Linked DNA regions of Homo sapiens: regions 2, 3 and 4 are each linked to region 1. The links are contacts of gene promoters, found by promoter capture Hi-C in human tissues and cell types (Jung and others, 2019). All regions are on one chromosome and are shown on one strand. Each heading gives the region's core, a stretch centred on a gene start or on the middle of the fragment in contact. The rest is flanking DNA. Distances are from core to core; before and after follow the strand shown.

Region 1 (2,700 bases), core at 123-2,622:
TTTTTCATTGAGCTTTGGAAAAAATGAAATCTCTGAACATTTCAAGATGAGCAAAAATGGTTTCAGGGAGGAGAAATGCCATGCAGAATGCCCTCTGTAGGGTTTGGGGAAATTAAGAACCATTTGTTTTGGAAATAATATAATGACATAAAGGAAAGCTAGGTTCTAGTAGAGAGTTGAGGAACCTGTGACAAAAAGAAACAGAACAGCTCAGTTTGGATTGTGGGATGAGTCAAGGGGAAACTTCAAAGGGAATCTGGGTGGATTAGGTGATCTGGCAGCATGAAGCCAGGGATGCATCAGGGAGGAAGGGGTGGTTAGAACAGTAGGAGAGAAAGTGCAGAAAAGGGAAAGGAAACTTTTTCTTTGTCACCATTCTGCCATCTACTTACATTAGATGAATCCTTCTATTATGTTTCTGAACCCAGACCCAGCCAGGACTTGTCTCTATTCATTTTCTGGGCTGTGTCTAACAGGAGATAATAGGCTAGAGAGAGATGCTGTATGAACAAATAGAGAAACACATTTGTTTTAAACATTCTCTGTTGCTGATGTTGGAAAAAAATGTGAAACAATTATTGCACATTTCATTTCACTAAGTTTTACCTTTTTTCCCCTTTCCCCTAATTTTCTCTTTCTTGAATTTTGAACAAAATACACAGAAGGAAAACACAAAACACAGAAATGGAAAGTAAAATGGAAGAAAATATCAAGAAAACTTTATTCTTGCTTATATTTTAAAAGGCACATTTTAAAGTGTTATCTTAAAAATCCAGAGCATTTTAGAAGATGAAATGCCAAAAGGTCTCCATTATGTCTATATGTCTATGTCTTTGAGTGACAATCACAGTGCTGATGTAGAGGGAAAGGGGGAACTAGTTAGACACTGTCACTCACCTGGGAAGGCTTTATTCACCTGTTCCACAGGGCAGTGAGGCACCTTCAGCTCTGAATCACCGAAAGAGAATCTGGTGGGGCAAGTTCCAGCTGCATGAGGATTTGCTTGCATAAATATTTTTTACTTATTGCTAACACTGAGGGTGCCTTCTTACTCCCTGGCAAACATTAAACCACTTTTATTTCCTTTCATGGAAATAAGATTATATTTACAGATGGTTCTTAGATATACTCACCTGATTTTTTTTTAATTGCTTTTCCACCTGCTTCCCCTTTCTTCTTAGGGTGAAACTCTAGCCATACGCCCTCTTCTGGTTTCGGGTGAGGAGCCTGAATTGTGGGTATCGTAGTTCTCTTGCCTTTTGGGGTTTCTAGTTGGGCAGCTTTGGAGCCACAGTGGTAGAACTTCAAGTCCCAGGTGGCTCAGGAAGCAGGGGTGCAGTTGCCTGCCTGCATACGGAGCAAGGCATGTTTGAAGAGTACCCGGGTTTGGTAGAGTGACTTCTATTCACTAAAACCATGTGTCTGAACTGAAGAAGCTTGGGCTCACTTCCACAAATGTAAGTGCTGATTTTTTAAAAATAATATTCCTTTCACTATTGATATGTGCTACACACTAGGAAGTTGTATAATTTCCAGAAAAATGTAACAAACCAGCTGCTTAACAAATCAAGCCCTGCTTAAATAAAGGGAAGGTAACTGGTATTCTGTGGGCTTATGGGACATGTGTTAGAATAAACCTCATGACATAGAATAGAATAATACCTTGAGACATGGTTTAGAATAAAGTAGTTTATTTTAAAAAAAAGGAGGAACCCAGGTCACATTAACCATCAAAGGCAAAAACAAAACACTCTATGAGTTGCTTAAAATATGTAGATGGCTGAAATCCCCTAAAAACTTTAAATATCTCAAAAAGCATACAGGTATGTTAAAAAGACTGTGCTTTGAAGATAGATAAAGTTGCAATCAGCAGCCCCACTGCTTATTAGATTTATGACCATTGACAAGATGTTTCACCTCGCAAAGTCTCAGTTTCCTCATCTGTAAAGTGTGTGTGCATAACCTACCTCATTAGGTTAATAGCATTAAATTATGAATAAAAGATAATCATGTAATTAAGTTAAGGGGGTCATTAAATTAGCACAGTGCATTGTACTGAATAGACAGATGATACATGATGGAGGGTAACTTGGCTTCATCCTAATTAAGTTTCAATTAAGCTTGGAAAACACACCAAAGAAACAAAAAGACAAATACTGGATGATTCAACTTACCTGAGGTATCTGGAGTAGTCAAACTCACATAAATGATACTTAGAATGGTAGTTGCCAGGGGCTTGGGGGAAGGAGAAATGAGAGTTGTTTAATGGATATAGAGTTTCAGTTTACAAGATGAAAACACTTGGAGACTGTACAATAATGTAAATATATTTAATACTATTGAACTTAAAATTTGTAAGTGTAAACACTTACAAATGGTTAGGATGGTAAATTGTATGTTAAGTTTTTTACCACAATTAATAAAGATAGATTTTAAAAAATTTATTTTTAAGATCAAAAAGCATGTAGTGAAAATTCCAATGCCTTCCATTTATTAAAGGTCTTCCTAATTTCCTAAAAATGTCTTAAGTCTATATTCAGTGGGTCTAATTTAGGATTGATATTGACTTATCTATGTTAATGTCTGGTTTTTACATAGCAATTACTGGGTGATAATGATGAATTTCAGGTATATTCTTAAAGTTGTCTTAACCTCAGTGGTGATTCTTTTATGCCCCCCTGAACTTAATTACATGATTAT
Region 2 (2,700 bases), core at 4-2,503, 280 kb after region 1:
TGAAAAGCCAAAGGATATGATTACTGGCTTCTCTCTATTTACCTTTACTTTATGTCTCCCTATTTATTCCAACAATTAAAGCAAACAGGAGGGAGAGAGTTTGCTTGGACAAAACAATGTTATAGGGAATGTAGCTGATAAATCTTAACCTTCATCTCAGCAGAAGAGCACCCCAGGCAGCAGCTGGGTGTTTTTGCTTTTGCTGATTTTTAAAATAAATGAAAATGAACTGCAAGTTATAACAGGAAAGCCTGACCTACACAAATAATAAGACACCCCACTTAACCTGTGCAATCAATACAGCCTCACGCAGGAAAAGTGCTGGGGAAGCTGGCTAGACACCCAGGGTAAATCCAGGCAGAGTGAGTGTTCACAGCAAGGCAGCCCTAAACTTGTGTTTGTCTCTGCATTTCTCTCTGGTTTGTCCATGAATCCAAAAAGGCTTAATTGAGTTCCTTTTTTCCTCCCCTGAACACATAATTAGTATTTGTTCCGAGTCCTCTGTTATTATCTCCTATCCGGTTTCCCTCTGCCCATCTGAACCACATTAATTCTGAGACTTATCTTTTCTATTTTCCTTATAGAAAGAAAATGATCTCTATGTAAACCTGAACAATTCAGGTTTTCTAGGCCTCCTGTCCTTCCTTGGCAACTTAATAGTTTAATACATTAAATCTCTTTACTACATGTTTACTATATGCCTCGTGCCATGTTAAGCACTGGAGGACAAAAAGAAAAGCAGAAACAGTGGAAAAGGCATGATGTCTGTTTCCAAGGATTATGGTAAGGTGGGTACTAAGAAGTAAGGAAATTAACCGTGGTGGGGTATGGGATTCAGATAAGCTTTTGGGACACTTTGCAAGGCAAGAAAGGGACTATGAGGGAGCAGGTGGTCACCACTCCTCAAGAGAGTTGTGCTTGGCTCAGGGCCTACAGGCCACACTGCTGCTATGTTCCAGGAGAAGACCCCACCCCTTGACGGCTCTTTTGTTTTTAATGCACATGCTGACCCTGAGAATGCCTTATGATGTCTGACCTAGGCAACTGGTTGTCTGAGTTAAGGATCCTGCAGATCTTTAGGAAATTGCTGGGAAAGGCAAACTGCCCAAATATCACATGTCCCAAGGATGACTGGATGGTTGTAGCCCTCCCACTGGAGGGAAAAAGACTCATGTCTCATGCTTGTTGAGTCAGGGGATGGAATTCCTTGGGAACTGATCACAGACAACCCTGCTTTTCACTTTATAATGAATGTTCATGCATGCTCTAGGTTATGTCACAGAAGATGATCCTGGCTTCTGTGAAGACAAGTGAAAGTAAACATTGAAAATAGACAGGAAGGGAAAGGAGGGATTTAGCAATGACCCACCAAGCAGATGATGCTTTACAGTCAGGTGCTGTGGGAAATGTATTAACAACATCAGCGCTTATTTTTTTTTACATTGTTTTCATGTTTAAACTTTTTGAAATAAATAAGAAAATTTCATTATAGTCTAGGAAAATGAGGCTTGTAAAGATCAAGAGGACTTTCTGCATTCACACAGATGTATGAATAGAATATTCAAGTATATGACTCCAAGCCATGTTCCTTTGCTAGTAGATGCTTAATGCGGAGCACCATGAAATACACATTTCCAGTGCCCTGTGAGAGTCATATGATGCTTTCCATTGAGCCAAACTTTGCAACTAGGATGAGGACAGATAGGAAACTTAGAGACTATTTTTAATAACAAAATTCCAGTTGGTATTTAGAGGAAAATGTTGTTGCCTAAAACAGTTTCTGATACATAGGGTTAATTATCACTTATTTGATATTATAATAACTTAGAGTAATAATACAGATTTTATATTTACTTTTAAATGAAAGGGTGATTACTATGGCAAAATGGGAGAAGCCATGGGGTCTATGGCTCAACCTCAGATTTGTTATGTGACTTGTGAAAAATCTCTTAATATGTTTTAGATTTCTGTTTTTGAGAGAAGTGAGAATAGAAATACCCATTTCAATTTTTGTGGTCTGTGTTTTTCATGCTAGCAATGGGAACTCACTCTGAGAGACAGGATTAATACCTGTAGATAGATACACAAATTTTTTAATGTACTATGAACATACTGAACTACAGAAGTTTTAAAATATGTAATAATCTTGGCCCTTGAAAAAATGTTTATTCCAATTAGAGTCAAGATGAAAACAGAAACAGAAAACATCATTATCACTTCAGAGGAAGGAGATTGAGGTAGTTGGCTCAATACTTGAATTTTCCCTTAATATACAGATATAAGTCTAAGAGATAAGGAGGGCTACCTGACCAGAAAAGATGATTATAAGCCCTGTTCCTCACAGTCTGTTTTTAAATGTTATATGAACGATGTTACTGGGTTCAAATAAATTTGTTTCTTTTAGGTTTTCCTCTAGTAGTTTCATAGTTTTGGGTCTTACATTTAAGTCTTCAATCCATTTTGGGTTGCTTTCTTTTGTATATGGTGAGTCATAGGGGTCTAATTTCATTCTTCTGCCTGTAGCTATCTAAGTTTTCTCAGAACCATTTATTGAAGAGACTGCCTATTCCCCAATGTGTGTTCTTGGCACCTTTGTCAAAAATAAGTTGAGTGTAAATATGAGGATTTATTTTGGGGTTCTTTATTCTGCTCCATTGGCCTATATGTTTGTTTTTATGGCAGTATCATACTAGTTTGGTT
Region 3 (2,700 bases), core at 140-2,639, 300 kb after region 1:
AAAGTAGTAGAAATACAGTATTAAAACTGCAGCTGTTTCTTCCATCTTCTTCAGTCTTGGCTTAGGAAAAGAATACCATGCAGAACCCGTGATGAAATAAATTATTAACAGACCCTACAATCTTTTTACCTAGACCTTAGAAAAATAATTATGAATCCCCCAATTACATGTTAACAATGAGCAATGATTGATATGAATTTGAGGATCTATGTTTATTAGATGAAGATCATCACTAAAAAATCCAATTTATTCATAAATAAATGAATAAATTACCCTTTTATTTATTTGTCTTTGTTGAGACTTACAACAGTCTCATGTTCACTCATTTTAAGATTCAAATAACTAAGCAATATTGCACTTATATTAGAAAACAATCATCCTTCTGGATTTTCTGTCTAATAACAGACAATAAAAATGTGCAAAATAATTAGCAATTTAAAATATAAGTGAGAAATTTTGTACATCTTACAGAATGATTGGATAAATTTAAAATTATATTTTAGTAATCACTGGTAATGTCATTGCAAAGATATGAACTTGCATGAAATTGTTCTGGCCCTTATTCTGTAATGGGCATTGCCATCTGTTCAGCATAATCAGTTCTTTCATACTTCCCTGATAAATGAAAACAATACAAATTTCTATTGAAACAATATATCAGGGAAAGAATATGTTCTACTGAATGAGGAAACTAAAAAAAGAAAGTCATATTCAGCAACCTGGGATGATTTCTTTCAATTTTAAAAGTTCTGAGACCAATAACTTTCCTTAAGAGGAAAGCTTTATAAAATTGGTTGAAAATTCAACAAAAAATAGCTCCTGTTATCAAGTCCATAAGTATCTTATGTCCATTTAAAAACTGAAGGAATAGCTTTTTCCATAATCCTTTGACATTTTTATGCGCACTGCTTCCATGATCAAGCCATTTGGCAGTAATAAAACAGAAAGCTGGCTCAACCATTATCCTCCACATTAAAAAAAAAAACTGTTTTGTTCTTTTCTACTAATGCCAACTCATTTGATGATCTGCACACACATTAATTAGAGCTGTTAGGTATGTGCAGAATGTAATGTGTCAACCAGGTCAAGGCTGATTCTAGATGTGACTCACAGGCCAGAAATGAATGGCAATTTTTACTTTTCCTTAAGTGTGAATCCACACTTTCAATCAGTTTTTATCACCATGCATAATTCCACCTTTCATCTTCATTTTTATTACCAATAAAAATATCAGACCCTAACTTTCTATATGAATTTTTTTTCTGCTGCCTAAAGTCCCCATTTTCCTTCTTAAACTGTCAATGGCATTTAGTTTTTAACTTTTAAAATTACTCTTCAAAGGTTTTTATTGATTTGACACTTCTTCTCAATTTATTGGGCTTCTTCTCAATTCAGAAGTAGACAAAAAAGGAGACAAAAAGCAACTCACTGCTGTAAAGGGTGATAATAAAAGGGAAAGTGCAGAATGCTGCTAAATGATTGATAAGGAAATTCCAAGGTAAGTCTCCTGGGAACAGGAAAGTCCTCCTTGAAAATGCAGGCTTTAGTTAGAATCTTAAAGGAAAGGAGTCAGCTAGGAAGAGTCAGGCAAGGGGATAGAGAGAGTGTTCCAGGTAGAAACAGAATGCACAAAACATGCAAGATGAGCTTTTTTAATTTTTATTTTTTAAAGGCATATATGTCTCTGTTTTCAGCTAAATTGAGATCCCTGTGGACAAGAAGACAAGGCATAGATTTTTTCTTCTGTCTCTCGTATCTTTTAAAACACCTCCACTTAGTAACTTAATACAGGAATATCTCATTTTATACTGTTTAACTTAATTGTGTTTCACAGATACTGCAGTTTTTAACCAATTGAAGGTTTGTGGAAACTCTGTATCAAGCAAGTCTATTGGGGCCATTTTTTTTGTAACAGGATGTGCTCACTTCATGTCTCTGTGTCAGATTTTGATAATTCTCATATTATTTACAATATTTTTATTATTATTATACCTATTATGGTGATCTGTGATCAGTGACCTTTGATGTTACTTTTGTAATTGTTTGAGTGCACCATGACAATGAACTAAATCAATGAATGTGTGTTTTCCGAGTGCTCTACCAAATGGCCACTCCCCCATTTCTCTCCTGCTCCTCAGGCCTTTCTATGTCCTCAGACACAAGAATATTGAAATTAGGCCAATTAATAGCTCTGCCATGGTCCTTAATTGTTCAAGTGAAAGAAATGGTTAGATGTCTCTTACTTTTAATCACAAGCTATAAATGATTAAGCTTAGTGAGGAAAGAACATTGAAAGTTGAGACAGGTCAAAAACTTAGCCTCTTGCACCAGTTAGCCAAGTTGTGAATGCAAAGAAAAAATTATTTAAGAGAATTAGAAGTACTACTCCAGTAAATACATGCAAATAATAAGAAAGCAAAACAAACCTATTGCTGTTATGGAGAAAGTTTTAGTGGTATAGATAGAAGATCAAACCAGCCACAACATTCCCTTAAGCCAAAGTCTAATCCAGAACAAGGCCCTAACTCTTCAATTCTGTGAAGGCTGAGAGAGAAGAGGGAGCTGAGAGGAAAAGATTGATGCTACACAGGTTGATTTATGGGGATTAAAGAAGGAAGCCATCTCTAGAACATAAATGTGGAAGGTGCAGCAAGTGCTGATGGAGAAACTGAAGCAAGTTATCCAAAAGATCTAGCTAAG
Region 4 (2,700 bases), core at 157-2,656, 440 kb after region 1:
CCTATATGTCTCCATTAATCAATTCATTTAATATTACAACTTGTTGTCTTCCTAACAGAGAAGCATTTTTTTCCTAAAGAAAAGAAGTGACTAAACACAAAGCAAAACTTCAACAACATATATGCTGTATTATTTATGCATATAAATTGGATCATTTAGATGACTTCTGTATTATTTAAATTAAATAAACTTTACATCATTAAAGCCATACACTAATGAGGTACTTTAGCATGTCTTTGAGGATTTAAAAGCATAGAAATGAATCCACTAATTATCATTCAGTACCAATGTTTATTTGTACTCCAAATATCACAATAACTGAAGCTCTTTAAGGCCTAACAAATTGTAACTCTTCTTCCTTACATTTGTTTTATTTTTAAGAGAAAAGGATTCAAATTTTTAAATTATAGAATATAAACATATGAAAAAAATTATAGTGTAGAATTGAGTTTAAACTCTAAAAGAAGCCCTTAATCAAATTTAAGAAAACTGAAACTGGCATTTATGTTACAGAACTTATGCTATAGGTCACCGAGCTTTTATGTTCTCATCATGGGAGCTTTAAGAAGCCTCTAATAGAGGCGCCTGCACTGCACTGATGTATAGAAGTCAACATTCCCTAGTCTTGTGTTATTGTACCCTAACCTCATCTTCCTTTGTTCTATTTTCCTTCAGTCCATGTCGAACTGGAGAACCCAGTTTTTGAGAAAGATGACCCACACCCAAAACCCTCTCTTTATCCCACTTCCTAGATCTCCTTGATAGAATACCTTGAGATTTTTCATAAAACTAGAGTAATGAAAATGGGGTCTAAACACAGCGATCCCTAGACATCTAGAGTCTCATAGGCATCAAAAGACAATGCAAAAATATCCCAGGCCAAGCTGGACTGGCCCCTGCCCTAAAGATTCTGATGAAAGTAGACTGTCAAAAATAATTGTGCATTAAGCCAGACGTGTTTTTTTTTTAAATAATGCCTGTTCTAATGCATACACATCTCTTGAATTTTGTTGAGAATATATAATCCCAGCTCAGTTGGGTCTAGCTATGCCTCCCAGAACGTGTGGTCACGCTCCTAGGGGAAAGCAAGGGTCTGTGGCTGGAGAGGAACAAAATCACCGTGGAGGTGTGGCCCCCATCAACTGCTTCTTCGCCCTACGACACGGAAGGTGACAGGCTGTGATGGCCGGGAGTGGACATTCCTTGTAAGCAGGCTTGAATCTAGCTCTCCTAGACAGGGGAGTTCCTTGGTGAGGGGCCTTGAGAGTCCTAGTGACATTAGGAGTCTGGCTTTTTCCACCCCCCTGGGGTTTCCGTCTTTCTTTGCTCACTGCTCCCCCTACCCCGCGTACAAGCTAAAGAAAGTTTTTCTCAGAATGAGCCCGCGTTGACGTAGGCATCGCCTCCCCTCTCCGCTGGATAGAAGCCCAGAAAGGAGCCACGGGGAGAAGCGGAGGTAGGGGTCGCCTGGATTTCTGTTGCTGCGGTCCGGGGGCGGGGCGGATCAAAGGCCAGCCAAGAGTACTGGTCCTGGATCTACAAATACATTAGGCTTTTTCCTCCTCCGTCAACCTCCTAAACCCCAATGAGGTCATAGCAATGAAAGAGAATCAGCTCGAGAGAAAGGAGGAGGAAGAGGACGACGACGAGGGAGAAGAAACCCAGACGGAAAGAGGCCATCAGACAAGGTCGCTTTTTCTGGCGACAAAGCAACTGCAAGGAGCGTGGTGCTGAATATCATCCGCCCGCTCTGCCTGGGGACCCAGAGACTTGCAGAAGCACTTCGCATTGCCACGAAAACAAAGGAGAGGTGACGAACGGGAGAGGGAGAGAGAAACTCGGAGCGGTTCCCTTTGGATCTCCGGGAAGCAAAGCTCCTCTCCTCGGCAATAAAACAGAAGGGACCCTGTGAAAGGGTCTAGTAGGCTGAGGAGGGCGCGGGTTTCCCTGCGGAGATTTGGGACGCGGCAGAACTCTGGACAGCGCCTGGGGAGCAAGGCTCGGAGCTCCCTGGGCTCCTCCAGGTTTTCCGCTGCTTAAAAGCCCCGGTACCGGTGTGCAATCTTCGCACCACCGAACCCAGGAAGATCCTTCTACGATCCCTATCTGAACGTGCCAGGGGGTGGAGCAGCTCCTTTGCCTCTGGCCCAGCCAGGGAAGGTCTTCGTTTCTGGAAATCCAGCCCTTGTGGATAATGCCTCGCTCTTGAAGAAAGAAAAGTTTTGGGATCTGGTAGGGGGTGGAAGGGGTAAGGAGGATAGTGGAAGAAAAAAAGGTAGATGGTTGATTTCCCTCTCTGATCTGGAAGGAAGATGACCGAGGAAGGATGTGCACCAGCGGTCAGATTATTGGGAGCCTCTTGGTGCTCTCCGTGCTGGAGATAGGGCTGGGGGTGTCCAGCGTGGCCGTGGGGGCGGTCAGCTTCAGCCTGGCCCTCCGAGAGCACAAGCCGCAGCTCGGAGACTCGTCCCCGGTATGGAGCGGGGTGTGTGTACGTTGAGCCATTTCACTCTCTCTTTACCTCTTTACGGTGATGGTCAGGGTGCGCGCATTAGTCACTCCCTCCCTGGGAAACAAAATCATAGATCTCTGGCTTGCATGTAGGTTCATGCTGACAAGCTATGCTTCTTTATATTGTCCTTTATTCGTTTTCTGTTTTGTTTTGTTTTGTTTTGTTTTGTTTCTTACTTGGGCTTAAGA

Evidence for each region. Contacts are between HindIII fragments. The study calls those that stand out against the background at their distance.
Region 2: a contact is called between a fragment that was not itself captured here and the fragment with the promoter of MACC1 in region 1, in 1 of the 25 tissues and cell types used here (mesenchymal stem cells).
Region 3: a fragment that was not itself captured here is called in contact with the fragment with the promoter of MACC1 in region 1 in 3 of the 25 tissues and cell types used here (aorta, dorsolateral prefrontal cortex and thymus).
Region 4: a contact is called between the fragment with the promoter of TMEM196 here and the fragment with the promoter of MACC1 in region 1, in 4 of the 25 tissues and cell types used here (liver, mesendoderm cells, neural progenitor cells and 1 more).

What each region holds. Positions count from the first base shown.
Region 1 is chr7:20,216,056-20,218,755 of GRCh38, reverse strand. It overlaps MACC1 (MET transcriptional regulator MACC1), which reads left to right and starts at 1,372. Exons shown (of 7, transcript NM_182762.4): 1 at 1,372-1,457. GIRGL (glutamine insufficiency regulator of glutaminase lncRNA) reads right to left here and starts at 1,179. Exons shown (of 4, transcript NR_134569.1): 1 at 1,134-1,179; 2 at 393-500. RefSeq lists an enhancer at 348-1,547. The HindIII fragment of the contact is 10,614 bases long and covers 1-1,778 here.
Region 2 is chr7:19,938,435-19,941,134 of GRCh38, reverse strand. All of the region lies in intron 5 of MACC1-OT1 (MACC1 3' UTR overlapping transcript 1), which reads left to right. Among named protein-coding and RNA genes, the nearest start is that of TMEM196, 170 kb to the right of the region's middle. The HindIII fragment of the contact is 6,182 bases long and covers 1-2,700 here.
Region 3 is chr7:19,914,581-19,917,280 of GRCh38, reverse strand. No RefSeq gene overlaps it. Among named protein-coding and RNA genes, the nearest start is that of TMEM196, 140 kb to the right of the region's middle. The HindIII fragment of the contact is 6,210 bases long and covers 1-2,700 here.
Region 4 is chr7:19,772,323-19,775,022 of GRCh38, reverse strand. TMEM196 (transmembrane protein 196) reads left to right here and starts at 1,406. Exons shown (of 5, transcript NM_001363562.2): 1 at 1,406-2,473. The coding sequence starts at 2,327. All of the region lies in intron 1 of LOC107986774 (a long non-coding RNA gene), which reads right to left. The HindIII fragment of the contact is 12,021 bases long and covers 1-2,700 here.